7 separate regions of the Homo sapiens genome follow, and all the other regions are linked to region 1. Evidence: promoter capture Hi-C in 16 types of primary human blood cells and fetal thymus (Javierre and others, 2016). All regions are on one chromosome and are shown on one strand. The core of a region is centred on a gene start or on the middle of the fragment in contact, and the rest is flanking DNA. Distances in the headings are between cores, read along the strand shown.

Region 1 (4,083 bases), core at 404-2,903:
TTTGTGGGGGCCAAATTATTTGAAAGTACTTAAAAACTTCAAAGTCCTGTATAAACATAAGTTATTTTCTTACGTTTTCACTTCTAGGCAACCCTGTGGGTCCTTCCCCTAAACGCTGTCTCATAAAAAATTCGCCCTTCAGGATGAAAATACTCCAATGACATCATTCATATGTTCCTTAGGAGATATTAAATAGTTAACATTAATGCCTTCAGGTTGAAACGCCAAGCCTCTTTCTATTGAAATAAATACATGCGTGTGTGTTTTTAACTGCTTAAGCGCTGATACTGACTTCTAGTCAATGCTTACCATAAATATATTTAAAACTAGTACCACATGAAGGTTTTTTGGAAATTTTGTCAGAAATTCCATTCTATTTTATAGTATGCTGTCAAGCAACTAACTCAAGAAGAGACTGCAAGTAGCAATCACTTTGATCCCAACTAGTTCTGTATTAGCTCTAGATACAACCAAATATATATACTGGACCCTAAAAACAGAACTGTTGGAGTACAAGCATGCACGCGAATGCAGTCAGTAGACAAATCCACTGCAAAGTGCAATGAGTTTCTCATTCTAAAATACTTGAAGGGCACAACCAGACCCCTCCTATAAATTAAAGAACACTCTCATTTCCTTTGAAGTTTGAAAGAGTAGACTTTATAACCCTGTCTCCTTTTCCAATCGCTCTTTAAACTCCATCCAGGCCCCATTTTGTTCCACCGTAAACCCGACTTCTTAGCTACTCCTTGGATGATCAGCCAAGTAAAGTTGCATCGAACCGTAACAGTCAAAAGAAGGACAGGATAAGGACCAGGGGAGCAGAAGTCCTCCCGCCACTCCAGGCCAGTGGCTGTTTTACCTTCGCAGTACAACTTCCCGTTTTCCCCCTCTTACCTTGTACACTTTCCCAAAGGCTCCGTCGCCCAGTTCTCCTATAATCTCCCAAAAGTCTTCGGGGTTCAGGTCCCTCTTCACGTGTTCGTACTGCTTCTTCTTCTTCTCGCTCCCCAACTTGAAGATCTTACGGAAATTGAAGAAGGACATTTTTCCTCCCAACACAGAGTTCCTTGCACTTAAGGACTAAAAACAATAAAAGGCAAAGTTTCTCTTCCCTGCTCTCCCGCGCGAGCCCGGCTGGCGGCGGCGGGCGCGGCGTCCCTCGGCCCCCGCAGCTCCGGCCGGGCGGTCCCGGGAGAAGGCGGGGCGGCGACCCGGGCTCCGGCCCGCGGTGGGGGTGCTGCGCGAGCGGCCCCTCCGCCGAGCCCGGCCCGCGAGCCGCGCGGTGGGCGCCTCGCCTCCGGCCCACCCTCCGGGAGCGGCACCTGCCCGCAAGCTCGCTCCCACCCGGCCTGATCCGACGGGTCCGAGCGGTCAGGACTCCCGCGGCGGCGGCTTAGGCCCGTGTCACGGCGAGTCTCCAGGGGCGGCGGCCACTCTGGGAGAGAGAAGCGGCCGGCGGCCTCGGAGGCGGGCAGTCGAGAAGCCGAGCCCTCCCGCCTCGGGCCGCGAGCCTAGGGTCTCCTCCGCCGCCGTCCGCTCCCGCGGCGCAAGGCCCGCGCGTCCCCTCGGGTCTGGGGCGCCGCCGCCGCCGCCTGTCTCCCTCCCCAGCCCACACAGCCTCGGCCTGGAGCGCGCGCCGACGCCGACTCCGTAGCGCGCCCGCGCGCTTTCCCGGCTGCGCGCCCGCCCGGTCACGCGCCCTGCTCACCGCGCGCTCGCGTGGGGGCGTCCCCTCTGGCCCCGCGCACGCGCGCTACGTCCCTCAGACTGGCTGCCCCCGAGGGTTCGCGTGAGCGGAGCACGGGGCTCGGGGTGCGGGGGGCTGGTGTGATGGACGCATTTGTTCTTCGGTCCCTGACGATTGTTTCTCATTTGCCCTCCAAGCCCCAAATCCTGTCAGTCCACGGCCTTGATGGAGCGGCCCCCGTGGGACGACCCTGTTGATTGTGCTAGCGGATGTTGTCTCCATTCTGGATCTGGGAAAAACTGTGGAGTGAAAGCCGGACCTGTTAGGGTTGGGACCTGAAAGCGGACTTTTTCGCTCTCAGACGGGCCCCAGGTACAGTGAGAGGGGAGTTTGTGTGGTGGTTGTGAGCTTGAGCTTTGGAGAGAGAGATCTGTGACCTTGGGCAGGTGACCTCTCCGAGCCTCGGTTTCCTCGCCGTAAAATGAAGATCCTAATAGTCCCTACCAGAAGGTTGTGAATGAGACAATAGATGGAAGCCCTTTGCGCGGCCCCTGCACCCGTAAACGCTCAATCTTAGTTCTTACTCTTGTTGTTTTAAGTGTGCAGGCAAGATAGACACAGATACATAAAAACTGTTTAAGACCACTTCTCTTTTTTTTCTTTCTTTCTTTTTTTTTTTTTTTTTTTTTTTTTGAGACGGAGTCTCGATCTGTCGCCCAGGCTGGAGTGCAGTGGCGCGAACTAGGCTCACCGCAAGCTCCGCCTCCCGGCTTCACGCTATTCTCCTGCCTCAGCCTCCCGAGTAGCTGGGACTACAGGCGCCCGCCACCACGCCCCGCTAATTTTTTTGTATTTTTAGTAGAGACGGGGTTTCACCGTGTTAGCCAGGATGGTCTCGATCTCCTGACCTCGTGATCCGCCCGCCTCGGCCTCCCAAAGTACTGGCGTGAGCCACCGCGCCGGGCCCCCACTTCTCAACTGATGACTGCGACACTCCCTTGAGGGTAAAACTAACTTCTGGCCACCTCCACAACTGTAAACCTGGTGTCACTCTTGGTGACTCCACCTCAGCTAAGGCCCCCACTTCCTGATCTGCCTCCAGCCCCCTTGGGCAGCACTCCCTGGTGGGGCAGTGTGGACGTTGGCTGGAATCCGTCAGGTGGTGACCTACCTTCCCCTCCTCCACCAGACGGGAGCTCTTTCAGGCCAGTGGTTTGTTGTTCATCAAGATATCCAAGTACCCGGCAACATTCCTGGCATATAATAGGAAGGCAGATCTGGTGAATGAATGAATGAATGGCGGTATCTGGAGCAGAGACAATGTATGTATATATTGCTATTTATATAATGTCTGCCCCCCCAGTCATTTTGCCCTTCAGCCCCAAAATGGCATAGCAAAACCCCCCTTCCAGTAAGACGCTTAAGATGATTCAATTCCTTGAGATCCTTCTATTTTTTTAAGTGTTATTGCAATATATTGATATACAATAAACTGTACATATTTAAAGTGTGCATTTGGTTTTTTTGCTAGTACTTGTTTGCTTTTTTTTAAAATTATACTTTAAGTTCTGGGATACACATGCAGAACGTGCAGGTTTGTTACATAGGTATACACGTGCCATGGTGGTTTGCTGCAAGTGTGCACTTTTATATGTTTTGACAAATGTATAGACCTGTGAAAACAATACTATAATTATTTGTAATTATTATCATTTATGGAGAAAATGAAATGCTTAAAAAATAAAATTAAATTAAAAGTACTATAATTCTACTATCCAGACACAACCATTGATAAGAACTTATATTTCAAAACAGGATTTTTTTGGTTGTGCATTAACTTTTTTCAACATGGTTGAGGTTGTATTACATAAAAAGGTTTGCATCCTGCACTTCGCATATTTCAATACAATTAATAATTGTTCTCTTCCATTATGAGATATTTAGATTATAATTCCTCTGTTTTTAATAAAATACGGATAAATATCTTTGTACACAAATCTTTTTCCACATATTTGATTATTTCCTTAGGATAAATTGCCAAAAGTAGATTTCGGTCAATGGGTATATGTCTGTTTCCTTATTTTGTTCTTTTCAAAATAGAAAAGACTTTACTATTTTGTCAATTAAAAGATAGTGTATTACTGGCTGGGTGGGGTGGCTCACACCTATAATCCCAGGCTGAGGTGGGAGGATTTCTTGAGCCCAGGAATTTGAGACCAGACTGGGCAACATGGCGAGATCACATCTACCAAAAATTAAAAACAGAAAAATTAGCTGGGCATGGTGGCACTCACCTGTGGTCTCAGCTACTGGGGAGGCTGAGGCAGGAGGATCACTTGGGCCCAAGAGGATGAGGCTGCAGTGAGCCATGTTTGTGCCACTGCACGTCAGCC
Region 2 (3,769 bases), core at 1,090-3,589, 250 kb after region 1:
GGATGGACTGAGGCCAGGCCAGAACCATCCCTGCCTCAGCCTGCCCATCAGGGGCCCCCAACACTCCCCATGGGGCAGAGTCCACCCCCAGTGTCCCTGCCTCCTGCGGGGAACCCCAGGGCAGGCCAAAAGGGGAGGCCATCCTGCGGGAGGCCTGCCCCAGCCAGAGCACAGGTTTGGGAACTGGGCCGGGCTGGTTAAGGTGGTGCAGGGGCTGGCTTAGGACACTGAGGGAGGCTGCCAGGGAAGGAGGGCCAGGGCAGAGGCAGATGCTGCTTGGGGCCTGGGGTGGGAGGAGGTCAGACTCAAGAAAACACTCTCCTCTGCATGACTTTCTCATCCTCCCCTCCCATTTATATTTTGGGGATGGTTGTTTCATCTTGGACTGCATGGTAAAATTGTGGGGAGTCCAGTGAGGGGGACAGAGGTTGTTGCTGCCATTTGCCTGGGAGAAGCAGAGCCCAGGAGGACAGATGAACTCTGCCAGCCCTGCTTCAGGGTTCCCGTAGGAAGACGAGGGGCAAGGTGGTGTGTGTGGCAGTGCAGCTGGAATAGCACTGAGAATGTGGGGTGTCTCCTCCAGGAGCCCCACATCCCCAATCCCAGTCGAATGCCAGGTCTGGCCTGTTCGGGAAGGCAGGGCGACTGCTCGGCTTATGTCTGGCTGCCAGCCTCTTGAGTTAGAGTCCAGGCTTCCCTGCTCACCAGCAGCATTGCTGTGGGTTGACTGCGTGGCCTTCCATTCTCTGTAAGTCACCCGGAGTCACTGCTCCGGCACTGGGGAGAATGAATTGGGATGATGCGTGTGGATCACAAACTGGGCACTGAGTCATACACCCTCCTACTCCCTTCCTTTTCCTAGGAGGCAAATGGAAGGTTGTGGACAGAGCCCTGGAACCTCTCCACAGCAGCCTCCCTTCACTCTGCAGGTAGTTACTGAGTGCCAGCTGTATGCCAGGGACCGCGTAGGCTAATCACCTCAAGGGTCAAAGCTGAAATTGTGAATTGAGTTAAATTAACTGCAGTGGCAACTGTGGGGACACCCAGCTCTGCCTGTGAGCTTGAATGGCTCACTTCTCCTCTTCCAGTCTGTTTCCCCATCTGTGCAAGGCCCCCGTGGTACATGTGGCAAAATGATTGTGAGGTTCAAGGGAGCAAATGCGTAGAAAATGCCCCTATGTACTTAACCCATCACAAAAGCTCAGGAAATGGGATTTTCTGTTTTTCTTCTCCTTTCCTCCATTAGCCCAGGCCTGGGTACAGAGCAGCCACCCCAAAAAGGCTGGGGGAATGGAATTGGGTTGGCCGAGCTGAAGGTGAGAGCTGGGAGAGGAGCATCTCACCGCATCCCTCTCTGCTCTGGGAGTCCTGGCCAGGGCTGGTGCTGCCTGTGGAGCGAGGCTGCCCCTACCACCCTGCAGGCTGTTGGAAACTCCAGGGCATCCCAAGTCCCTGTCTCTCCTGGGGGATTGGGGTAGAAAGTCCACCCACACATGCCTGGCTGCATTCTGGTCAGACACCTATCATCAAGATGGCTCTGTGTGCTCTGTAAAGCCCTGCCACCACCCATCTGGCCAGGGACGTGGGCCACACTGTCCTTGCAGCCCCCTGCCACTGGCTGCTGCACAAATAGCCTCTTTATGTTGATGGGCAGGAGGGCCAGCTGGACCTTGGAGCTGTGGGAGGCTGAGGGAGGGAACAGAACGTTAGATAAATAAACCTTGTCCATCCCCTGCCATGCCCCCTTCAACCTGGGTGGGCAGGTGGCAGGAAAATGCCCACAGGAAGCTGTGTCCAACCCACTTGAAAGGGGCATTGGCCGTGGGGAACAAGGACTTCTGCAGGCTCAGCTGTCATGCTGGGTCGGCGAGCTGGAGGGAAGCAGATTCAAACACCCCCAGTCCAGCCCAGCTCATAGCGCACACGCCTGGGAGGCCCATGTCCAGGGAGAGAAGATGACTCTGTTTTCAGGCCTGGCACAGGATTTTCTTCAGGGTGGGGAGGAAGGTGGCAGGGAAGGGTATCCTGGTGCAGGAGTGTGTGGGGGTAGACTGGGTCCCCCATTAATTTCTTGGGCTTGTGCATTCTATGTTCTCTGAAACCTCAAGACCCCCATGTGCCCACTCTCTTACCCCCAAGGAAGGCCTACAGAGCCCTTTGGAGCCTCTGGCGGAAGGGGTAAGCCCTGGAAGAGCGCTGAGGCCTGCTTTGCTGTTATGTTGTGTTCAAGGTGGGTCTTGGTTCCCCTGTGGTTATCACTACCCTCCATGTTCCTAGTCCCTGGGTAGTTACCCCTCCATGGGGAGTTTAAGGCAGAACTGAACCTAGAACCTGGGTCTTCGGCCACTGGGACCAGCCTTCCTCTGTTGCATTCTTGTGGGAGGCGTGTGTTCATGCAAGTGTTTCTAGATCATCTCTATGTGAGGCCCGGGACTTCAGAAGTAGCTCAGTCCCCACTCTCGGGGCCCTGGTGGTCTAAGGGGGAGGATAGCATGGCATGGGCCTGGCTTGCTTCCACAGGAGGCAGCAGACCATTATAGGCTCTGGCAAACCCTGGCTCCTCCCCCACCTGCTGTGTGGCCTGGGAATTATTTAAACTCCCAAAACCTCAATGTCCTTGCCTATAAAACAGGGCTTATAACAGCTGCTGATAATGGGGAAGACAGAAAAAGAACAACTGATTGTAATAGGTGCAGGGCCTTGCGCAGCAACAAACCAGCCTGCTGAGGTGGTCAGGAAGGCCTCCCTGAGGAGGTGGCATTCAGGCTGAGACTAAAGCAAGAGCTCACTACTCAAGGAGAGTGGCAGAGGAGGGCATCCAGGCCAGAGGGAGTCCCTGAGATTGTGTTTCAAGGATTGAAAGAAATTTCATCTTCCGTGAGAGTAAGGGATTTTTGGCTAGGGCTAGGCCAAGAAGAGATAGGCCTGAGGCAGTCATTAACAATCGCTACACTTCAGCATCAGGTAAATGGGCAGAACCTAGGGGTCTCTGGGCTATCTCCTGGCTCTGACATTCTGAGGTCCTAGCAGAACCAGTTGGCTATTGCAGTGGTCCAAGCATGCAACAGTCAGGATCTAGAGAGGGGCTGGATGGCTGTGGGAATGGGAGATATTCATAGACATAGTCCGAGATGAAAGGGACAAGCATCCAGAGACCTTGTGACTCCTTCCCCTTCACAGGCTCTGTAAGTTGGATCTTGAGGGTGGTTGGAGTTTGGGCACGTCTGTAACTTTGGGTCACTTTGAAGCCCTCGGTTCATGAGATACATGTGTATCTGGCTCCACCCCATGGCCATATCGGATATTACAGCTCCCAGCGTCTGGCTGATGCTGTACTAAAGCCGTGCTGGACCCTTGAGCATGGTTTATCTTGTTTGAGCATCCGTACAATCCAGGGAGGCCCATGCTCCTTTCTGCAGATGAGGGACCTTAGGCTGAGACTGGTTGACTTACCTCTCAGCTAGGAAGTGTCAGAGGCTGGACTCATGCCATTGCCCTTCAGCTCCAAGTCCACACCCCACACGGGGGTGAGCTGAGGATGAAGTGAGAAGCACCTGACCCTTGGCTGGGGCAACTAGCTCCAAATTTCAGGATGGGACCCTTCATCAGACAGAAGGGCAGAATAACTGCATCAGGACGCCATGGTTGCCATGGTCACCACGGGGGCTGAAGGTAGAGTTGAAGGCATGTGCCACATTTGGGATCTTTTAAGGGGAACCCAGGTTTCCTGCTGGGCCACATCCCTGAAAAGGTACAAGGTTTGCTGAGA
Region 3 (4,151 bases), core at 1,006-3,505, 130 kb before region 1:
AAAACTCCCATGCTTTTCATCAGCCATCCATTTGTGTCTATTCCTCCTAGCCTAAAAAATCCTCATAAGCCAATTAAGTAAATTAAGATTTACATAAACAGCTTGGTTCTCCCAGTCCTTCCTCAGCTGCCTGAGTTAACCTAGACAAACTAAAAATAGAAACCCAAAAGACAAATACTTGGTGCATTTTTAGCCCTTTAAAGGAAAACTCCCCTTTTGTGCTTTTTCTGTGGCAAGGACATTGTCCTCTACTCACAAGTTATTGCTAAAAAAACAAACAGCGTTGCACACTGGCATGGAGTTCCACATGGGGTAAATCCATACAGCTGCAGTCAACTGGGATATCTTTTCCCAGTGATGTCTGGGTTTGTTTCTCCAGGTTTTCAATTTAGATTGTTCACTTGGTTTCAAAATTACATATTAAAATGTGTAATTTAAATTATGGTCATATGTTATGAATCACTTCTTGAACCTTATTTAGGATATTCTTGCAAGTTCCACAAGATGATTATAAATACTTATCTTGAAGTTAATGTTGCTTCTTGTTTGTTCTAGGAAGAGAGAAGAATTGCTTATTGAACGTTTATGATATTTAGCTCATTTAAAAATTTAATTAAGTATGTTAGCTGCAGGCCAAAGAGGGAGGATTTGAGATATTCCAAAATAATAACATTTTATTTTAAATGTTAGTATCTCATTTCAGGTACTCTTCCTGCTGTTGCTGTTTCACGTAACATTGATGAAATGAACACAATCTGATTAATGTATGGTATATGGCAAAAAACATTACCTTATGAAGTATATTTTATTACGTGCCATCCTAACTATGCTGCCAAGTATTCTGTAAGTATATAGGCTAGCTGAGCCTCGTTCTTACTTCCAAGAGGAATGAGTGGATGGTAAAGACCATCAAGAATAGGATTATTCTGTCTGGGTGCAGTGGCTCATGCTTGTAATCCTAATACTTTGGGAGGCCAAGGCAAGAGGATTGTTTTAGCCCAGGAGTTCAAGACTAGCCTGGGCAATATAGCAAGACCTCATCCCTACAAATAATAAAAAAAATTAGCTGGCATGGTGACACATATCTGTGGTTCCAGCTACTCAGGAGGCTGAAGTGGGAGAAGAATTGCTTGAGCCCAGGCAGTCAAGGCTGCAGTGAGCCATGATCACACCACTGCACTCCAGCCTGGGTGACAAAGCAAGACCCTGTCTCAAAAACAAAAAACATACAAACAAAAAAACCAGAACAGGGTTATTCTATTTAAGTTCATCATCACTATCACATTTCACTGAGAATTGCTGAAACTTGCACAGCATTTTAGTGGCATAGATTTGCTCTGTAAATTTTTGATAATTCTTTAAGCTCCTCATGATTTAGGATAGCTAAGAGCCTGGAAAATTATTTTAAACAATTTTACAGAATGGCATAGGAAAAACGATCAAGCAAACAAAAAGCTTTCATACTAGTCCTGACTCTGCCATTAACTACCCTCAGCACATTATTTAGTTTACCTTCTCATTTTGCAAACTAGGTGACCCAAACTAGGTAATCTGTAAGGTCTCCTTGAGCTCTAATATTTTATGATATTAATATTAGAATTATGCCCACTTTTACTAAAATTACTCTCAAAGCTCCTAATATCTTCTGAGAGTAATCTCTTCATAGTACTTTTAAGTCGTGGGTGTCTACGTGGCCTTTATCAAGAGGAAGTTATAGTCTTTATATATGGGGTGAATCACTCTCAGCCTTTGTAAATGTGAATACCTCTCTGTGAAGTCAAAATATTTTGCATGTAACTTGATATATTTTGATGTAACTTGTACTTCTGTAATCAATTGATTGAAAAATTAGGCAATGCCAGGGCGCTACTCCAACTCCAGTAACACTTTAAATGAATTTGTGTTTATTATTCATAACAGTACCTACATATATTTGGAGCATACTATTACTTATTATTATGAACCAGTGAGGATGCTTTCAAATTTAATAACTGAAAATACCAACTCAAATTGGCTTAAATGATAAGGAAGTTTATTATCTCACACACAAAGAATCCAGAGGTAGGGTAGTCCCATGGTTGTTTATTCAGGCTCTCAATGTTGTCATTGAGGAGCAAGGATGTTTTCAATCCTCATCTCCTCACTGTGGTGATACCCTTGTGAGTGTAATGCATTAGCACGTCCACATCACATGCAGATGTACCAATGTCCTGAAAAAGAAAATGGCTGTTTCTGCTTTTTCTCCTTAGAAGCAATAAACTTCTCCTAAACATCCTGAAAACACTTTTCCTCATGTACCATTGGCCAACAAATGAGTCACATTTCTTCCTAAATCCACCACTAAAAGGAATGGATGAAAATTAACAATTTTGGGGGCAGAATGGGAAGGTAACCACTATGATTGCAATAATGTATAATATAATATATTCGTAGTCCACAGATAGTGCTTGCGCACAGATTCCTTGTCATAATGCTACATGTACTGAACACTTCTGCTCCCAAACATTCTGGAAATTCTTGGTCAATTCCTCACTCTAAGACCAAAGCCCATTACTGTTGCTACACTACTAATGATTTGTATTCTGTGGGGAAAAAATGAAATTAATGGTTCCTAAGTAAATCGCCCTAACTTGTGTGTATGTCTTTCCTAGAGGATACATCTCAAATATTGCAACAAATAGAACATATGATGCAATTCTATAATTTCAGTGAAATGGACGAGCTCTTGAAAGACACAAGCCATCAAAGCTCTCTCAAAAAGACATAGATAACCTGAATAATTCTGCTTCTATTAAGAAAATTTTATTTGTAGGTCAAATCTTTCTAGAAAATAAAATCCCATGCTCAGATAGCTTCACTGAAAATTCTGTCAAACTTTTGAGAAAGAAATAATACCAATTCTACACAAATTCTTCCAGAAAAATAAAGGAAAAATGAGCAATTCCCAGCTTATTTTATGAGACCATTATTATCCTGACCAAAATAAGGCAAAAAATTTACAAGAAAGAAAAATCTATAGACCAATATCTCTCATAAACAAGGACACAAAAGCTTTTTGTAAAACATCAGCAATAAAATGCAGCAATATATTAAAAGGAAAATGTGTCATGTCCAAGTGCAATTTATTCAGAGAATACAAGGTTGATTCTACATTCAAAAACCAATCAATGGATAGAGAGGCCTTGTCTCCAGAAAATAAAAATAAAACAAAGTAAATAAATCCATAGGAGTTATATCAGTGAAAATGATGGAGTAAGAACCTTTTTTTTTTTTTTTTTTTTTTTAAGCCAGAGTCTCACTCTTATTGCCCAGGCTGGAGTGCAATGGTGCAATCTCGGTTCACTGCAACTTCTGCCTCCCAGATTCAAGTGATTCTCCTGCCCCAGCCTCCCAGGTAGCTGGGACTACAGGTGCCCACGACCATGCCTGGCTAACTTTTGTATTTTCAGTAGAGATGGGGTTTCACCATGTTGGTCAGGCTGGTCTCGAACTCCTGACCTCAGGTGATCCACCCACCTCAGCCTCCCAAAGTGCTGGGATTACAGGCATGAGCCACCACACCTAGCCAAGGACCTCTTAATATTTTCTCTTCTGTGAAGTAATGGGGGGAAGTGGGAAAAATAGTCACAACAACTTTTTCAGAACTCCGAAAATTAACCAAAGTCTTGCAGCAACCTGGGAAGTATTTATTCAGGAAAATGGCTCAGTAAGAGCAGCAAGCTTTGTGGCATTTTAACTTGCCCTATTCCATTCCCTCTCAACTCTGTGGTATCTTTGAAAACCAATAGCCCACAATCATGGTGAGAAGCAGGAGGCTGGCAGCCACTGGAGTGGACAGAATGAGGTCGGAGTTCCTTCAAAACTGTATTCACAGAGCACTGTCACTATTTGACCCGTCTGGTGGTTCTTTGGAAGATTCCACTTACAAGATTGTCTTTATTTGACCTGTCTCAGAGCTCATTCAGTGTGAAAAGCCTTTTCCGTGGGGCATTTGTCAAAAACAATTCAATGCAATTGTCTAACATTGTGGCTACCCAAGGAAATCGATAACAGTTGAGGGAAATAAGAGGCTAAACAAAAAGTTTAAAAGGAAAAACTGGGGATAAAATATCCATAGTGGCTTTTAAAAGTTTTAACATATTTCTGGAAAT
Region 4 (3,821 bases), core at 107-2,606, 220 kb after region 1:
CACATAACAGTAACTGGCAGAGCCAGATGTACCAGTCAGGACTCTCCTGGTGACAAGAAATAGACCCATCTCAATCTGGCTTAAGAAAAAAGGGGAAACTTATTGGTTCACATAACTGAAAACCAAGAGTAATGGTTTCAGGCATAGCTGGATCTAGGGGACCAAATCTGTGTCTCTTAAGCCCTCAGCTTTGCTGTCTTTTCTGTTGACTTAATTCTCTGATAGGCTTCCCCCAGGTGGTAACAGAGATACATAAAGATGCTTCCTAGCAGCTTGGGGCTTGGCATTTATGAGTTAGCAGCTGTAGAGAGAGAACACATCTCTTCCTGGTAGTTCCAGCAGTAGTCCCAGGCTGATTCCCACTGGACCAATGTGGGTTGCATGCCCATGGCTGGACTGTACTTAATGATCAGCCCCAGAGTTTGGGATGGGATCAACCCCACTGAAATCCCATGGACTGAGAATGAAGGAGGGATTGTTTCCCAAAAGAAAATCGGGCACTGTAATAATTAAAAGCTGGCAGACAAAACCTACCAATGTCTACCATGCTAGACTTCAAGCCAGAGGCAGCATCTTGGCTCTAAAGAGAGATTCATGGGAGCCAGAACTCAGGGCATGGTGTCAGTATGCCTCAGGCTGCTGACCTTCGCTATGGGGATTGTGTCTTTCCGGAACCTGCATGTGCCCACTGCTTCCAGCCTCAGCATCTAGGCCTCACTCCTGCCTTCCCCCAGCCCAAGTAAATGGCAACAAAGCCAGATGTTGCAAGTGAAGAAGGAAGGATTGGGTGTCAGGGTGTGATCTGAGCCAGGTACAAGGCTGTAGACTCTGGGGATGTCATCTCAGCTGCACCAGAAGCTGGAGGCAGCCCAGCAGGGGAAGAGGTGACCTGCAGTCCCCAGGCTGCAGAGGGTCAGAGGTGACATGTGAGTTTCAGGGGCAGCACTTAAAAAGACAAGCAGGGGCCAGGTGCGGTGGCTCATGCCTGTAATCCCAGCACTTTGGGAGGCTGAGGCGGGCGGATCACCTGAGGTCGGGAGTTCGAGACCAGCCTGACCAACATGGAGAAACCCCATCTCTACTAAAAATACAAAATTAGCCAGGTGTGGTGGCACATACCTGTAATCCCAGCTACTAGGGAGGCTGAGGCAGGAGAATCGCTTGAACCCGGGAGGTGGAGGTTGCGGTGAGCCGAGATCATGCCATTGCACTCCAGCCTGGGCAACAAGAGCGAAACTCTGTCGCAAAAAAAAAAAAAAAAGACAAGCAGGGGCCTGCCATTCAGCCACTCCCACCCTAGCCTAGGCAGGGCTAACCCAGGTGAAAGCTGGGTGGCCCCATGGTCAGGAAACAGCTGAACATCAAGAGCAGGGCCAGCTTTCAGGAAGACAGGGGAGCCAGTAGAGGCTGTTCCGCCGTTCTTCTCCCCTGCCCATTACATCCAGTTCCATCAAGGCCTCTCTGCTCTATGCTCTCTTCCCTAGCGAGACCCTGTTATTGAGTGAGAAGCCGGTGCCTGCTCATACTCAGGTGTGAATGGTTAATAAGGCTCACTGTACCATTCTCCAGGAAAAAGTTGATATATCTTGACGAAAATCTTAAAGAAACTAAATTCTGATTCTGCAATCTCAGGCATCAAAGAAGTAGATTGTGAGTTTGTTTGTTTTTAGAGTTGGGTATTCTTAGGGCCCAGGGCATACCCTCTTGGTGTCTGCTTGCTTTAAACCATCAAAAGTCCCAGCCTGGGCCAGGTGCAGTGGCTCAGGCCTATACTCCCAGCCTTTTGGGAGGCTGAGGCAAGAAGATCACTTAAGACCAGGAGTTCGGGACCAGCCTAGGCAACATAACAAGACCCCATCACTATAAAAATGTAGTCGGGTGTTGTGTGCACCTGTTACTTCGGAGGCTGAGGTGGGAGGATCACTTAAGCCCAGGAGTTCAAGGCTGAAGTGAGCCATGATAGAGTCACTGCACTCCAGCCTGGGTGGCAGATGAGATCCTCTCTCAAAAACAAACAAAAAAAGAGTCCCAGTCTGCTTCTCCTTGGACCAGCTTGGATCACCGAGCCTCAGTGACTCGGTGAGTTGGGGGTTGGTAACAGCCTCTCTGAAATCAAACAGACTTAGAATGAAAGAGGGGTCGTTTGTGTTTTGTTTTTAATGGTGAAGAAAGCCCCATTAGTGGAATCATGGTTATATTCTCTCTGCCCTCCCCTGCCCAGGGCCCTTCATTTAAGAGCTTCTGTCTTCATCAATCTGTCAGCAAACAACACGGATGGAGGCGCCTGGTGAGGGCAGCTGGACATGGGATCCTTGGCTGGTCCAGCCCACTTTGCACAGGGACCTGGTCAGGTCTCAGGACCACAGAGAGCTGTGGGAGTAGGAAACTTAACTTCTCCTCCTTCCTCCCACATGCATTGCCTGTGTCTTATCACCCCACGAGCATGCGTGTCACCCTTGAGGGGGGGAGGGAGGTTCCCTCTAGGAATCCTCACATCTTCTTTCCTCCAGTTCATCTGGGAAATCTGTTCGTCTCTTCTCTCCTGGGTGTCACATCAGCCCTCAGAGCCAGAGAAGGACCCGCCCCCCCATTCTCTCGGCTTCAGGTCCCCACAGCTTGCCTGTCTCCTCTCAGGCTGAGACTCCGGAGCTGCTCTGTTCAGACACTCCCCTGTCCCCCACGAGGGCTTCAGGCTGCACTCATATCCATTTCACCCAGCGCCATGCCAGACATTTCCAGGGATTCAGGGAGTATAGAAACCACCCCTGTCCTTGGGGCCACTGAAATCCGCTTAGGGATATAGGGCCCTGTCAGGTGACTGGTATGCCCTGTGACTCTCCCATAACTACCCTGCGGTAGGTTGAATAATGGCTCCCAAAAAGATATATCCAAGTCCTAACCCTTGAAACCTGTGAATCTGGCCTTATTTGGAGAAAGGGTCTTTGCAGATGTAATCAAAGATCTTAAAATTAGATCATCCTGGATATAGGGTGGGCACTAAACTCAGTGACAGGTGTTCTTATAAGAGAAAGGCAGAAGGAGATGTGGGACACAGGCATGGGGCGGGAAGGCCATGTAAAGACTGAGACAGAGATCGGAGTGATGCTGCCACGAGCCAAGAGATGCCTGGAGCCCTCAGAAGCTAGAAGAGGTGCAGAAGAACTCTCCCTGATGCCGCCAGAGGGAGCGTGACCCTGCTGGCACCTTGATTTCAGACTTCTGACCTCCAGAACTGGCAGAGAATACATTCCTGGGTTGTTGTTTGATTTGAGACAGTCTCACTATGTCACCCAGGCTGGAGTACAGTGGCACGATCATGACTCAGTGCAGCCTCAACCCCCCAGGCTCAAGCGATCCCCCTACCTCAGCCTCCTGAGTAGCTGGGATCACAGGCGTGCGCCACCATGCCCGGCTGATTTTTTTTATAGCATTTTGTAGAGACAGGGTCTCACTATGTTGCCTAGTCTGGTCTTGAACTCCTGAGTTCAAGCGATCCTCCAGCCTCGGCCTCCCAAACAGCTGGGATTACAGGCATGAGCCACCATGGTCTGCCAAATTCCTGTTATTTTAAGCCACTGGGTTTGTGGTAATTTGTGCCAGCAGCCTTAGGTGACAACTGCCTCCCACCTTCCTTTCTGTTCTCAGACCCAGTTAGAAGGGCAGGAGGGCTGTCCTTGGAGCACGAGGCCTTTGCACCGTGCAGTCTGTGGGCTCCAGGCCCACCTGTGCTCTCCCTTGTTTCTTAGGCAAGTCTCCCTCGACAGCCTGGGCTCTCTGGGCTGCATTGAGGGGAGGGGTTTGTGAGCATCTGTATCCCTGGA
Region 5 (3,735 bases), core at 782-3,281, 240 kb before region 1:
CAGGGAACAGAGGGCAGCACCTGCAAGACCTTTGGGATGAAGGGAGAAGCTCCACTTTTTTGGCCCTCTTGAACCTGCTATGCTTTACCCTTGTGTTAAAAATTAGCTGGGCATGATGGCAGATGCCTGCAATCCCAGCTACTCGGGAGGCTGAGGTGGGAGAATCACTTGAAGCCGGGAGGCGGAGGTTGCAGTGAGCCAAGATTGCACCATTGCACTCCAGCCTGGGTGACAGCGAGACTCCGTCTCAAAAACTAAACTAAGCTAAACTAAAATAAAAATAATTCAGTGTGAAGATTAGTTCATTCAAAAATCTCTGTGGCAAGCAAGAGAAAGGGTTACATGCCCTTAATATTTCCTCTAATGAATGTCAATGATTCACCTTTTTAAATTATGGAAAGAGATTATAGTCAATCTCCTGCATTCGTGGGTTCCACTTCTGTGTATTCAACCCACTGCAGATCAAAAATATTCAGAAAAAAGTTGTATGGTTGCATCTGTACTGAATATATACACACTTTTATTTCTTCTCGTTATTTCCTAAACAATATAGTATAACAACTATTTATAAAACATTTACATTGTATTAGGTATTATAAGTAACCTAGAGATGACTTAAAAGTATATGGGAGAAAAAATAAAATAAAATAATTAAAAATAAAGAAAAAATTTACAGGGGGATGTATGTAGGTTATATGGAAATACTATGCCATTTTATGTAAGGAACTGGAGCATCCACAGATTTTGGTATCAGTGGGGGGTCCTGGAACCCATCCCCTGTGGATACTGTAGTTCCTTTTATAGCACAGGTCTCAGCCTTGGAGATATAACTGCATTCAGCCACAGTGGGGCAGCAAAGGAAGAACAAAGAGATCAGCCATCAAGGTTTGCAACTCAAATTTTTCTATGTTTAGTATTTGGTGCCAGAGCCCCTAAATTTCTACTCTCTCAAATTGGGTTTTTCTGGGCAGAAAATATGTGTAGGAGCCCTTATATTTCACATTTTGTACAAACATAACGAACTCTGCATAAAACATTTAAAATTCAGGCAATTGTCCTTGTCATTTGAGAAATGCTATGAAATGCCTTCTTTAAATACTCAAATGTGGAGTTATTATTTTAAAATGCTCATAATAGACATCTTTATTTTAAAACCTTTTTTATTTGTATAAATTTAAGGGGTACGCCTGCAGTTTTGCTATGTGGATATATTGTCTGGGCAGACATCTTTATTTCCTAGGACTTGTGCACTCAGTGTATTTTAAATTTTTCTGAAAGCAGAAATGTAATATTATAGTTTGACAACCCTAAATCATTCATGGATTATTAATAAAGCCATATATTTTGTATTTAAGTTAGACATTTTCCCAGTAGTTTACTTTTTCATTTTGTAGCAAAATAAAGTGAGGAAAATGTTTAAAACATTAATTAATGTCTGTACAATGAGTGAAAGCATAACCAAAAATAGATCTCAAATGTCTTGATTCTATTCCCTCCTTCAATGTCATTTCTTGTGACCTGGGTACCAATGGCAAGGGAATCAATAATGACTCGATCTGTATAAGGTCTTAAAAATGGATAAGTTGTGGACTTTTAAAAAATTACAAACATCAAATAATCCCATTATCTATTCATAGCTAATGCCAGAAGGGTACATTACAGGACTTTAAATAGCCCTGAGTCACATTACACAACTTATTTAGGGCGTTAGAAATGTATCCAGTTTTAAGTCGTAGCATGGGGGAAATCAAAGGCAGATGTTATCTGGGCAGAAATTGGATCCAAGATCATGAACTTAATCTCAAGTGTCTAATTTCTATTTTCCATCTACCTTTTTAATTTTTTCAAACAGATGTTGCTAAATAGGAATCTCTTTTAGAGACTCAAATATTTTGAAATATATATGGATTTTTACATTTTCTAAAGCAGGATTAAATTGGACTGCAATTTTTCATGTTTTGTCATCATGTGATCAAAATGATTTCTGATTCTAGAGGACTGAAAAAGGAGATGATATTATCAACAAACATTTCTAAACACTACTGGTACCCTTTATTTTTAAATATCTCAGAATTATAAACTATTGTTTCTGCTTACATAATCCATATACTCACATTCATTTTTAAATGTCATCAAATATATTTATTGATGAAAAAGTAATAGGAAGACAAGCCCAGGTTTGTCTTAAAGAAAAAAAAGCCACATACAATACTAGTTTAACATACCAAGGCCAGAAAATTTCAAATTTTAATCTTCACATTTTGTTTTATACACACAGATTCACTGGTATTGTGCAAATGAGAGACATGGTGTTTTGTTGTTGTTTTGTTTAAGATTTTGATCCTATTGTCATTTCAGTTAAGTCTGTCTTTGTGATTTATAGTTTAAGGTTAGATGTCATAAAAAAAACTCAGGAAACTTTTCAATAATGGTGATAACGGTGAATAACTCTCTTCCTTATGAGTCAAATCTCAATCAGACACCACAGAAGTGTCACTATTCAGCAGCAGTTTAATTTTTTGGAGTGGGAAAGGTGGTTTGCCTTTTTCTTGATCCACTGGGTGACCAGATTGTTACCCAACTATTTATTTTCTAACTATCTAAGGCTATGAGGGCATGAAAGGTACAAATAATAAATTAAAGTCAGTCTGTCCTTAAAAAAAATTATTATGATGAATGCTCAATGTTCCTATGTTTTCTGCGTCTATGGGGTTAAGTATGGTTCCTTTTTGTCAGTTGTTCTGGTGAGTATTTCTCAGGCTTTTAGCCGTGATTGTTTTCTTAACACAAGGTTTTATTCTCTCCCTGAAGCCGAAAGATGATCTATATCCTTTGCTTCACCCGACTATGCATTGCTGGACTCCAACAAGTGACTTGTACATTGGCTGTGAAGAGGGTCATCTTTTAATGATTAATGGAGACACCTTGCAAGTGACTGTACTTAATAAGATAGAAGAGGAATCGCCATTGGGTAAGAAACTGTCCTACTTCATATTCCTGTATAGCCATGGGTGTTGGTTTTTTTGGTTTTCCCTATTTTTCTCTTTCTTGGAGACATCTTTGAATCCTCCTTCTTCTTAATCCTCTGGCTGTTACTGTGCTGTTGGCATTCTACCATCACTTTATATGCATATTTCATGTAATCCTCAGAACAACATTATGAGGAGAGACACCTTAATCTCCACGATACAGAAGAGATATGTTAGGAAACATGGCCCAGTCCACGTAAACTGTGGAGCTGACACCTGAACCCAGGCAATAATACCTCAGAGTCCAAGTTCTTGGCTACTGTGCTGTATCCTTTTCTATACATATGCCCATTCTGCTTAGTCTGCTAATCATACCCTTTCCTGCCCCCACCCCAACCCTTTTCTCCAGGCTGATCATCTGTTAAGCCCAAAAGCCATCTTGAAAATTACCTTTCTATTGCTCGGTTAGAGGTGTTGTTTTTTTGGTTTTTTTTTAGACAGAGTCTCATTCTGTCACCCAGGCTAGGATGCAGTGGTGCAATCTTGGCTCACTGCAACCTCCGCCTCCTGGGTTCAAGCGATCTCGTGTCTCAGCCTCCCAGGTACCTGGAATTATAGGCACACACTACCACGCCTGGCTAATTTTTGTATTTTTAGTAGAGATGGGGTTTCGTCATGTTGGCCCGGCTGATCTTGAACTCCTGACCTCAAGTGATCTGCCTGCCTTGGCCTCCCAAAGTGCTGGGATTACAGGCAGGAGCCACCA
Region 6 (3,965 bases), core at 288-2,787, 190 kb before region 1:
TCTCAGTTGGCCTCCTTTCCCCTTCTCTCCTCCAGGCACTACCTACCTTCCCCAATCCCAAATGCAGTCATTCTAATGTTGGGTGGGAAGCTGCCTCTGGAGCCACCTGGAATGTCAGGTCTCTGTCTCAGTATTCCTCTCTGATTCTGGCTCTTTCCCAGGATGCCAGTACAAGACTCCGAGCTCTGATGGACATGATGGGAGGAGTTCTGGAAGTCAAGAAGGAAGATATTTTGAGAATGGTGATATTTCTGTTCATCCTTATAGAAGGTGGAATGGGGTGGAAAGAGCTACTTAAGTTTTACCATTTTTGTCCTATATAAACCTGGGTTTTAGAAGTTCTACAGCAACAACTATTATACAACCTCCGTAGTACCTTATAAACCTACCACATTAGGGCCTGGCGTGGTGGCTTATGCTTGTAATCCCAGCACTTGAGGAGGCTAAGTGAGGAGGCCAGGAATTCAAGGCAGGAGGCTAGGAGTTCAAGGCTACAGTGAGCTGTGATCACACCACTGCACTCCAGCCTGAGAGACAGAGCAAGACCCTGTCTCAGAAAACCAAAAACATACCACGTTAGACAGATAATAAATTTGAAAATGCAGGTTTGCCTTCCAATCTGACAAGACACAAACAAATCAATAAAAATAAGTAACTACAGTGGTTTTGGTCTCTATTGAAGGCAGGAATACTGTTTCATCAGTAATTATCCAGATATACCAGGAAACATTTTCTTTGATACCTGACATAGGTTTTCCTGGGGCTCAGGGGTAGTTCTCACTATAAAGATACCAACACACCCCTCTGAGTCTATCACCTAAGAGTCCAGGTATATCCCACCCTGCTCACCTTCACCTAAGTCACAGAAGAACTGTTGTAAAATTTTAAAATATCTTTTGCCCAAGATGTCAGGTCGTTTTCCTTGCCAATGTGAAGGACTGTATCCTTTTAAAGGGCTTTTTAAAAAAAACTCTGAGCTTTTACTGTACTACTGCATTTAACGTTTGAGCTGAAATATATGCTTTTCTTCATATCTTCAGGTGATTCCTCAACCTGCTTTCATGGCAAAACCTGATGCTGTGTGGACTGAAGAAGAAAGAAAACAATTCAAAGATTATGAGAAAAAAGTAAAGGAGTTAAATGAAGAAAGAGATAAGTATAGAAAGGTCAGAAGAGCAAATAATTAATATAACCTACCATATCCAGAGTGCTGTTTAAATATCTTTTCAAATGTTTTCTACTTTGTCGATATCTTTAATAGCTTAAGGACAGTGTTTCAGCTTAAATTCTCAAGAGAATTTGGAGAAGTAAGTGGAGATAAATTTAAGGAATTAAACCAATTTTAAAGCAAAGAAACATACAGCAATAGTTTTTTTAAAGCTGTTATTGATTTCAGCATTTCCCGTGTCATTACAATTCATTTGGCCCTTCATTCATTCTTCAGGTGTTCAATGAACCCCTAATACAACATGTTCAAGTCACGGCAAGGTATTGCTCTGTGTTGTGTACATTTATTTGAATTCAGTAATACTTTTGCTTGATTTGTTCTCCATCTCAGGAAAAAGGTTTGAATAACAAATGGCATAATCAATGCAGTACATTATTTACAACTCAAATTCAAGGTTTTTACAGTGCAGTTCTGCTACTTTTATCCCCATCCATCAGAAGGAAACACTGTCACATTAAAATTGCTCACAATTACAGTAGAGATATAAAAGACGGTGATGTGCAGTCAAGTAAATAATATTTATTCTTCTAAGAAGGAAGTAAAGTCATACCATCATTCAAGGTAGGCCAGCTTTCCAGCTTGCTAGTGGCTGTATCTCATGAAGAGCTTCTTTGAATCTGTTGTGAACCTGTCCACATTTTTATTCACTGTGGCCCTGTAGGGTCCCTTGTATTTTAACCTAAAATGGTTCTTACTCAAAGCCAAAATCAGTAATACTGAAAGAAGTAAAGATTTCAAAGAGTTATGGAGTATAGATGCCTAAGGAATAAAGGCTGATGACCTATCAACTACATTTACTCCACAGTTTTGTGTTGTAAGATAGTCCACTGCCTGCACCCTCATGTCCCTGCACCTTCTTTGTACTCACCTGCTGAAACCCCAGCCTTGATTAAATCTGATACTCTGCCTTCTCTGCACCTGCACCCATGAAGTGGCTAAAGAAAAACTATTGACTGGGTTTACTCAAAATTATGACCTTAATCTCAACTGGGTCCTTAGAGCTGGTCCGCAATGCTACTCCATTTTTCCCCTAGCCAAGTGCTCTCACACTTGAATGCGAATCTGCATCACCTGGGGGATTTGTTAAAAATGCAGGTTCTGATTTCATTGTTTCTCTGTGAAAATGGAAGGACGCTGAGATTTTGCACTCCAAATAGGCTATTGCTGTCCAGTGGACCCTACTTTAAGTAGCAGGATCCTAGAGTACCATTTCACACCCGTTGCGCATCTCCCAAACTTTCAACACCTGACGCCCTCAACTCACTCTCACCTTATTTTCTATTTTACTAAGAGAAGAGAGACAACTAAAAGTTATTTCCCTTACTCCTCTACTGCTGCATCCACCCGCCAGCTCCACTGAATCCATGGCGTCTGCCTTTCTGCTTCTTATGGGTGAAATGGCCTTGCATCCACCTAAGCCTGGTCCTCTCCTGGTGCACTAGTCACCATCCCATCTCACCTACTCAATGTCATTACTCATCAGTTTACCCTCTTCTTTCCTGCATCATCAATTTTTCCCACCCTGTGGATTTTCCCCATCAGTGTAGACACATGCTATAATTGTATACATCTCTCATCTTATTAAAAAAATACTTCCTGGAAGGAAATGCTTGAGTTCTTTCTACTGTTCTTGTGATATTTGGGTCAGTATAAATTTATTTCAAAACAAAAAGTAAAAGGAAAAAACCCAACTCCTTTGGCCTCTCTTTCCCCCTGGATCACTCAATGTCTCTGCTCTCCTTTACTGCAAAACTCAAAAAAATCTATGTTGATGGTTTTCAATTTCTCTCTCAAGTAAAAAAAAAATCTTGTATCGTGGAAAATGTCAAACATGTATAAAAATAGAGAGAACAGTATAATGACCCCTTTATCCAGCTTCCGCAATTATCTACTCACGGCCAATCTTAATTCATTTTATACCTCCACTTACTTCCCTAACATTGGATTATTTTTTTCACCAATTTTTATTTTAGAATTATTCAAATGTACATAAATGTTACATGAATAGTACCATCTATATACCATATATTTGTACCAATGGCATATATATTACGTATATGTTATATATATATTGTATATGTATACCTGTGCACATCAGTTTTTTATATTGCCACATTTGTTCTCTTTTTCTCCTGAATAGTTGGAGACAAATCACAGATATCATGATATTCCTAAATATTACAGCTTAAACCTCCTAAGAACAAAAATATTCTTCTACATAACCACAGTAAAATTATCATACAAAAGAAGCTTAATATTAATATGATTATCTAATTAAGTCTATATTCAGATTACCCTGTTGTCCAAGTAGTGTCCTTCATAACTTTTTTTATTGGTGTTTATCAAAAAATCTAATCAATTTCACTTAGTTTGTAATGTTCTTTTAGTCTCCTTTAATCCACAACAGTTCTACAACTTTGTGTTCCATGACATTGACATTTTTTAAAAATCGAGGCTTATTTTTTTGTGGCATGTCCCCCAAGTTGAATTTGATTGGTTTCTCATGATTAGATTTAGGTGCAGTATTTCTGACAATCATACTAAGTAGATGATGCTGTGTCTTCAGTGCATCGTATCAGGAGGTTCCAGATTTCAGTCAGTCCCACTGTTGGTAACATTAAGTATGATCACTGGAAAGAAGGTTTCTCCAGATTTCTTTGTTATAGAAGTTCTCTTTCTCCTTCGTGTGTAATAACTAACCTGTGGGGGTGACATTTTGAATCTGACTCTCTGTTCA
Region 7 (4,061 bases), core at 141-2,640, 170 kb before region 1:
TATAAAAGAATTTATAGTTGCCTGCATACTTGATTTTCACCAAGAAGCAAATTTGATACTTTCAAATCGTTCAAATTGTTACATACCATGTAAGTTTTAGACATTTAAATTTAAATGTTTTATTACTTTCTTCGAAAGATAGACCTGTTAAGGTTTTTAAATTTAAAAAGTTAAAAGATGTATGTTGTCTAAAATTGAAGCTCCATATGTTCTGACATGTTTCTGGCTTGGTTTCTTTAGGTAAAGCAGAAAGCAGCTGACTTATTGGAAATGGCAACTTTCCTCCAGAAGAGAGTTGAGGAGGAAGAGAAGGTGCAACAGGAGATTGAGAGAGTGTTCCATGAACTCATCCTGTAATTTGAAGCTTTCTTTCATGTTCACCTATTCAAAGTCTAATTAGGGCTAAATCAGGTTGTGTTATCACTGGGGAGAATGCCTACTGACTGCTTTACAGCCATCTCCCTTCCAGCACTGTGCTTTAAAATTTCTATTTTAAAAAGCCTGCTTTGTTACATAGACCTTGATTCAGGATGGAACTTTCCCACGTTTTGTTGCTCTTATTACAAATAAGCAAGTTTCAGAAAAATCTTAGTATTGTTTTAAGTCGGCCCCTTCCACATAAAAATACAAAGAACCTGTTTTTCAGTACTTTGGGGCTCAAGGCATATAAGCTAACCATGTGGAAAATTAAGCAGATGTCTAAGAACTTTCCATGTAGACACGCAGCCAACTGATATATTTTTCTTTAGGGGAACTTGTTGTTTACTAAGTGATTAAGATATTTAAGTCCTTGCTTCATTTTTTGGCTATATTTATAGCCTCATCGATAAATACTTCTCTGATGTTCCCAAATTCATTGAGAACACATCATTTTTAGATCTAGGCTATAGCGAGGATATGAATTACCCAGAAATAGATTTGTTAAGTAACTTACATATTAAATATTGTTAGTATAGTATCAGAAATCAATAAATAAGTTCAGAATTTTAATAGAGTTATTTTATTTATTTATTTATTTATTTTGAAATGGAGCCTCACTCTGTCACACAAGCTGGAGTGCAGTGGCACGATCTGGGCTCACTGCAGTCTCCACCTCCCAGGTTCAAGAGATCTCATGCCTCAGCCTCCCAAGCAGCTGGGATTACAGGTGCCTGTCACCACCCCTGGCTAATTTTTGTATTGTTAGTAGAGATGGGGTTTCGCCATGTTGGCCAGGCTAGTCTCGAACTCCTGACCTCAGATGATCCACCCACCTCGGCATCCCAAAATGCTGGGATTACAGGCATGAGCCACTGCGCCTGGCCAGATTTGTTATTTAAAAGTGTCTCTATTTTCTTCATTTTTACTTTACTTTTATTACCGTCAAAATTATACAATCTTTTCTTAATCCTAAAGTAAAAATCTATAAATGTATTTCTGTCCATACCATTTTTTGAGCAACCCAGGTATAATTCTGCATCAATAGGAAGAGGTTTCAGAGAGACCTCTAGGAAAGCTCATCATCAGGAAAATATTCTCCACACTAATCTCCAGCATGTTTTCCTTAAGCTGATTCGATTTTTATATTCTCAGATAATAGGTGAAATTTGAAATATATTACAACTACTTGCTTTGAAGTACTTTTCAATTCAGATTACAGGAAGAGAAAGTGAGATTCCAGTTGAATTTGACAATCCAAATTCTTCTTAAACAAGGACAAGTAGAACTGGAAAATTTCCAGCTAGTACTGGAGTATTCTGATGCAATTCTCATCAACAAGAACATAATTGAAGACTTGAATTCTGTGATTCGGGTAATTATACTTTTTATTTTTATTTTAATTCAAGGTCTTGCTTTGTTACTCAGGCTAGAGTCTTGTGGCACAATCATGGCTCACTGCAGCCTTAACCCTTAGCTAGGCTCAATAGATCCTCCCACCTTCACCTCCCAAGTAGCTGGGAGTACAGGTTCACACCACCACACCCAGCTAATTGTTTTAAAATTAGTTTTTTGTAAAAACAGAGTCTTAATATGTTGCCCAGGCTGTTCTCAAACTCCTGAGCTCAAGTGATCCTCCTGCTCTGGCCTCCCAGAGTGCTGGAATTAACAGGCAGGAGCCACTGCACCTGGCCAATTATACTTGTTTAAAGACAAAACATATTGCCTGCTGTACCAAATATTTTACATTATTCTCCCATTTTCATAAGTAATTTTAATTCAATTAAGTCAGTGGTTTCCTAACTGTGGTTGCACATTAGAATCATTTGAAGAACTTTATAAATGTGCTCAGACCCCACCCCCAGGATGAGTATTTTTTAAAAGCTCCCTCCATAATTCTAAGGTTCAAGAAGGATCACAGAGCTAAATGTCCATTCTAGTATGCCATCGTTTTTTTAGGCCCAGCCTACTCAGGCAAAGATAATCTTAGATAAGCTTAGTTAGTTGATTTCAGACCTTACTTCTTTTCTAATATGAACATTTAATGTTATTTCTGTATAAGCTTTAGGTATAATTGAGTCCTAAAAAAATATTCCCTATAAGCTTTATTTTATCTGTATTCTACAAATTTTAATATTTTGTGTTTTAATTTTCTTTTACATATTTTCTAATTTCTGTTGTGACTTCCTATTTGATTCATGGGTTATTTAAAAGCGTGTTATTTAATTTCTAAATATTTGCGGATTTTGTGCTATTTGGGAATTAGATGATAATGCTACTGTACATTTTATTTTTACAAATGCTATAAACACAAAACATATTGCTATTATTTTTTGCTTTAGACAATTATCTTTTAGAATAATAAAAATGTGAAAAGAGGTATTTTCTATTTACCTTAATTTTCACTATTTCAAAAGATCTTTATTTCATTGTGTAGATCCAAATTTCCATCTTGTATCATTTACCTTCTGCTTAAAGAACTTCCTTTAACTTAATTGAAGTACAAGCCTGCTAGTAATGAATTCTCTCCATTTTTCTTTATCTGAAAAAGTTTTTAATCACCTTCATTGTTGAAAGATACTTTGCTAGATTCACTGGATTGCCAGGTTCGTTCATTTGTTCTCTCTCTCTCTCTTTTCATTTTAAAGATGTTCATTTTCTTCTGAACATCTAGATAGTTTCTGACAAGGTTTCTGCTATATTTTTTATCTTTGTTCATCTGAATTTAATGTGTCTGGCTTTGAGATTTTTTATTTGTTTTTCAGCAGTTTGAACACAATGTGTCTAGGTGGGGATAGGGGGCGGTATGCACATGTGTGCGTGAGATTCTTGAGCTTCTCTGAGCTTCCTCAATCTGTGATTTGATATTTGTCATTATCTTTGGAAAATTCTTATTTATTATCTCTGAATATTTCTTCTGCCCCTTTCGCTCTCTCTTTTTCTACTGGGATTCCAATTACACACGTGTCAGATTGTCTGATACTGTTCCACATCTCTTAGATATTCCATACTCATTGTTTTTCACTCTTTGTTCTCTTTATGTTTCAGTTTGGGTAATTACTATTGCCCTATATTCAAGTTCATTCATTCTTATGCTGTGTCTAGTCTGATAATGAGCCCATCAAAGGCAAAATATCTGTTACCATATTATTGTAGATAGATAGATAGATAGACAGACAGATAGATAGACTTACATTTAGTATTTCTGTTTAACTTATACTTTCCATCCCTCTGCTGAAATTCCCCATTTGTTCATGCATGTTGTCTATCCTTTCCAAAAATTTTTGTTTTAGAAAAGTTGTAAAGATAGTACAGAGAATTCTCATATACCCCTTATCCAGTTTCTTATATTTTATTATTTTCCATCAGTATGGTACATTTGCCACAACTATTGAACTAATATTGACACATTATTATTAACTAAAGTACAAACTTTATTCACTTTTCCTTAGTTTTTACTTAAGGTCATTTTTCTGTTCCAGGATCTCATCAGGATGCATTTTATTTAGTTGTCATGTCTTTCTTTTTTTTTTTTTCTTTTTAGACTGAGCTTTGCTCTTATTGCCCAGGCTGGTGTGCAATGGCACTATCTCAGGTCACTGCAACCTCCACCTTCTGGGTTCAAGCGATTCTACTGCCTCAGC

What was found. Contacts are between HindIII fragments. The CHiCAGO score rates a contact against its expected background, and 5 or more counts as called.
Region 2: a contact is called between a fragment that was not itself captured here and the fragment with the promoter of SLK in region 1, in 7 of 17 cell types (M1 macrophages, naive CD8 T cells, M2 macrophages and 4 more). The highest score is 9.2, in M1 macrophages.
Region 3: a contact is called between a fragment that was not itself captured here and the fragment with the promoter of SLK in region 1, in 9 of 17 cell types (activated CD4 T cells, total B cells, fetal thymus and 6 more). The highest score is 8.5, in activated CD4 T cells.
Region 4: a contact is called between a fragment that was not itself captured here and the fragment with the promoter of SLK in region 1, in 2 of 17 cell types (non-activated CD4 T cells and total CD4 T cells). The highest score is 5.9, in non-activated CD4 T cells.
Region 5: a contact is called between a fragment that was not itself captured here and the fragment with the promoter of SLK in region 1, in 7 of 17 cell types (naive CD4 T cells, total CD4 T cells, activated CD4 T cells and 4 more). The highest score is 8.9, in naive CD4 T cells.
Region 6: a contact is called between a fragment that was not itself captured here and the fragment with the promoter of SLK in region 1, in 1 of 17 cell types (activated CD4 T cells). The highest score is 5.1, in activated CD4 T cells.
Region 7: a fragment that was not itself captured here is called in contact with the fragment with the promoter of SLK in region 1 in 16 of 17 cell types (total B cells, naive B cells, activated CD4 T cells and 13 more); the score reaches 11.4 in total B cells.

What each region holds. Positions count from the first base shown.
Region 1 is chr10:103,964,710-103,968,792 of GRCh38, reverse strand. It overlaps SLK (STE20 like kinase), which reads right to left and starts at 1,653. Exons shown (of 19, transcript NM_014720.4): 1 at 898-1,653. The coding sequence starts at 1,047. It overlaps LOC102724351 (a long non-coding RNA gene), which reads left to right and starts at 1,748. Exons shown (of 5, transcript XR_007062282.1): 1 at 1,748-3,012. RefSeq lists silencers at 1,132-1,231, 1,242-1,291, 1,332-1,791. The HindIII fragment of the contact is 5,644 bases long and covers 1-4,083 here.
Region 2 is chr10:103,712,608-103,716,376 of GRCh38, reverse strand. The region is part of intron 5 of SH3PXD2A (SH3 and PX domains 2A); the gene reads left to right. Among named protein-coding and RNA genes, the nearest start is that of SH3PXD2A-AS1, 32 kb to the left of the region's middle. The HindIII fragment of the contact is 8,786 bases long and covers 1-3,769 here.
Region 3 is chr10:104,097,095-104,101,245 of GRCh38, reverse strand. No RefSeq gene overlaps it. Among named protein-coding and RNA genes, the nearest start is that of COL17A1, 13 kb to the right of the region's middle. The HindIII fragment of the contact is 1,596 bases long and covers 1,458-3,053 here.
Region 4 is chr10:103,741,595-103,745,415 of GRCh38, reverse strand. The region is part of intron 3 of SH3PXD2A (SH3 and PX domains 2A); the gene reads left to right. Among named protein-coding and RNA genes, the nearest start is that of SH3PXD2A-AS1, 3.3 kb to the left of the region's middle. The HindIII fragment of the contact is 5,889 bases long and covers 1-3,821 here.
Region 5 is chr10:104,206,901-104,210,635 of GRCh38, reverse strand. CFAP43 (cilia and flagella associated protein 43) reads left to right here. Exons shown (of 38, transcript NM_025145.7): 6 at 2,812-2,971. Among named protein-coding and RNA genes, the nearest start is that of MIR609, 10 kb to the left of the region's middle. The HindIII fragment of the contact is 9,235 bases long and covers 1-3,735 here.
Region 6 is chr10:104,158,238-104,162,202 of GRCh38, reverse strand. CFAP43 (cilia and flagella associated protein 43) reads left to right here. Exons shown (of 38, transcript NM_025145.7): 26 at 162-242; 27 at 1,041-1,166. Among named protein-coding and RNA genes, the nearest start is that of SFR1, 38 kb to the right of the region's middle. The HindIII fragment of the contact is 3,887 bases long and covers 1-3,480 here.
Region 7 is chr10:104,138,573-104,142,633 of GRCh38, reverse strand. CFAP43 (cilia and flagella associated protein 43) reads left to right here. Exons shown (of 38, transcript NM_025145.7): 33 at 241-353; 34 at 1,633-1,792. Among named protein-coding and RNA genes, the nearest start is that of SFR1, 18 kb to the right of the region's middle. The HindIII fragment of the contact is 2,048 bases long and covers 367-2,414 here.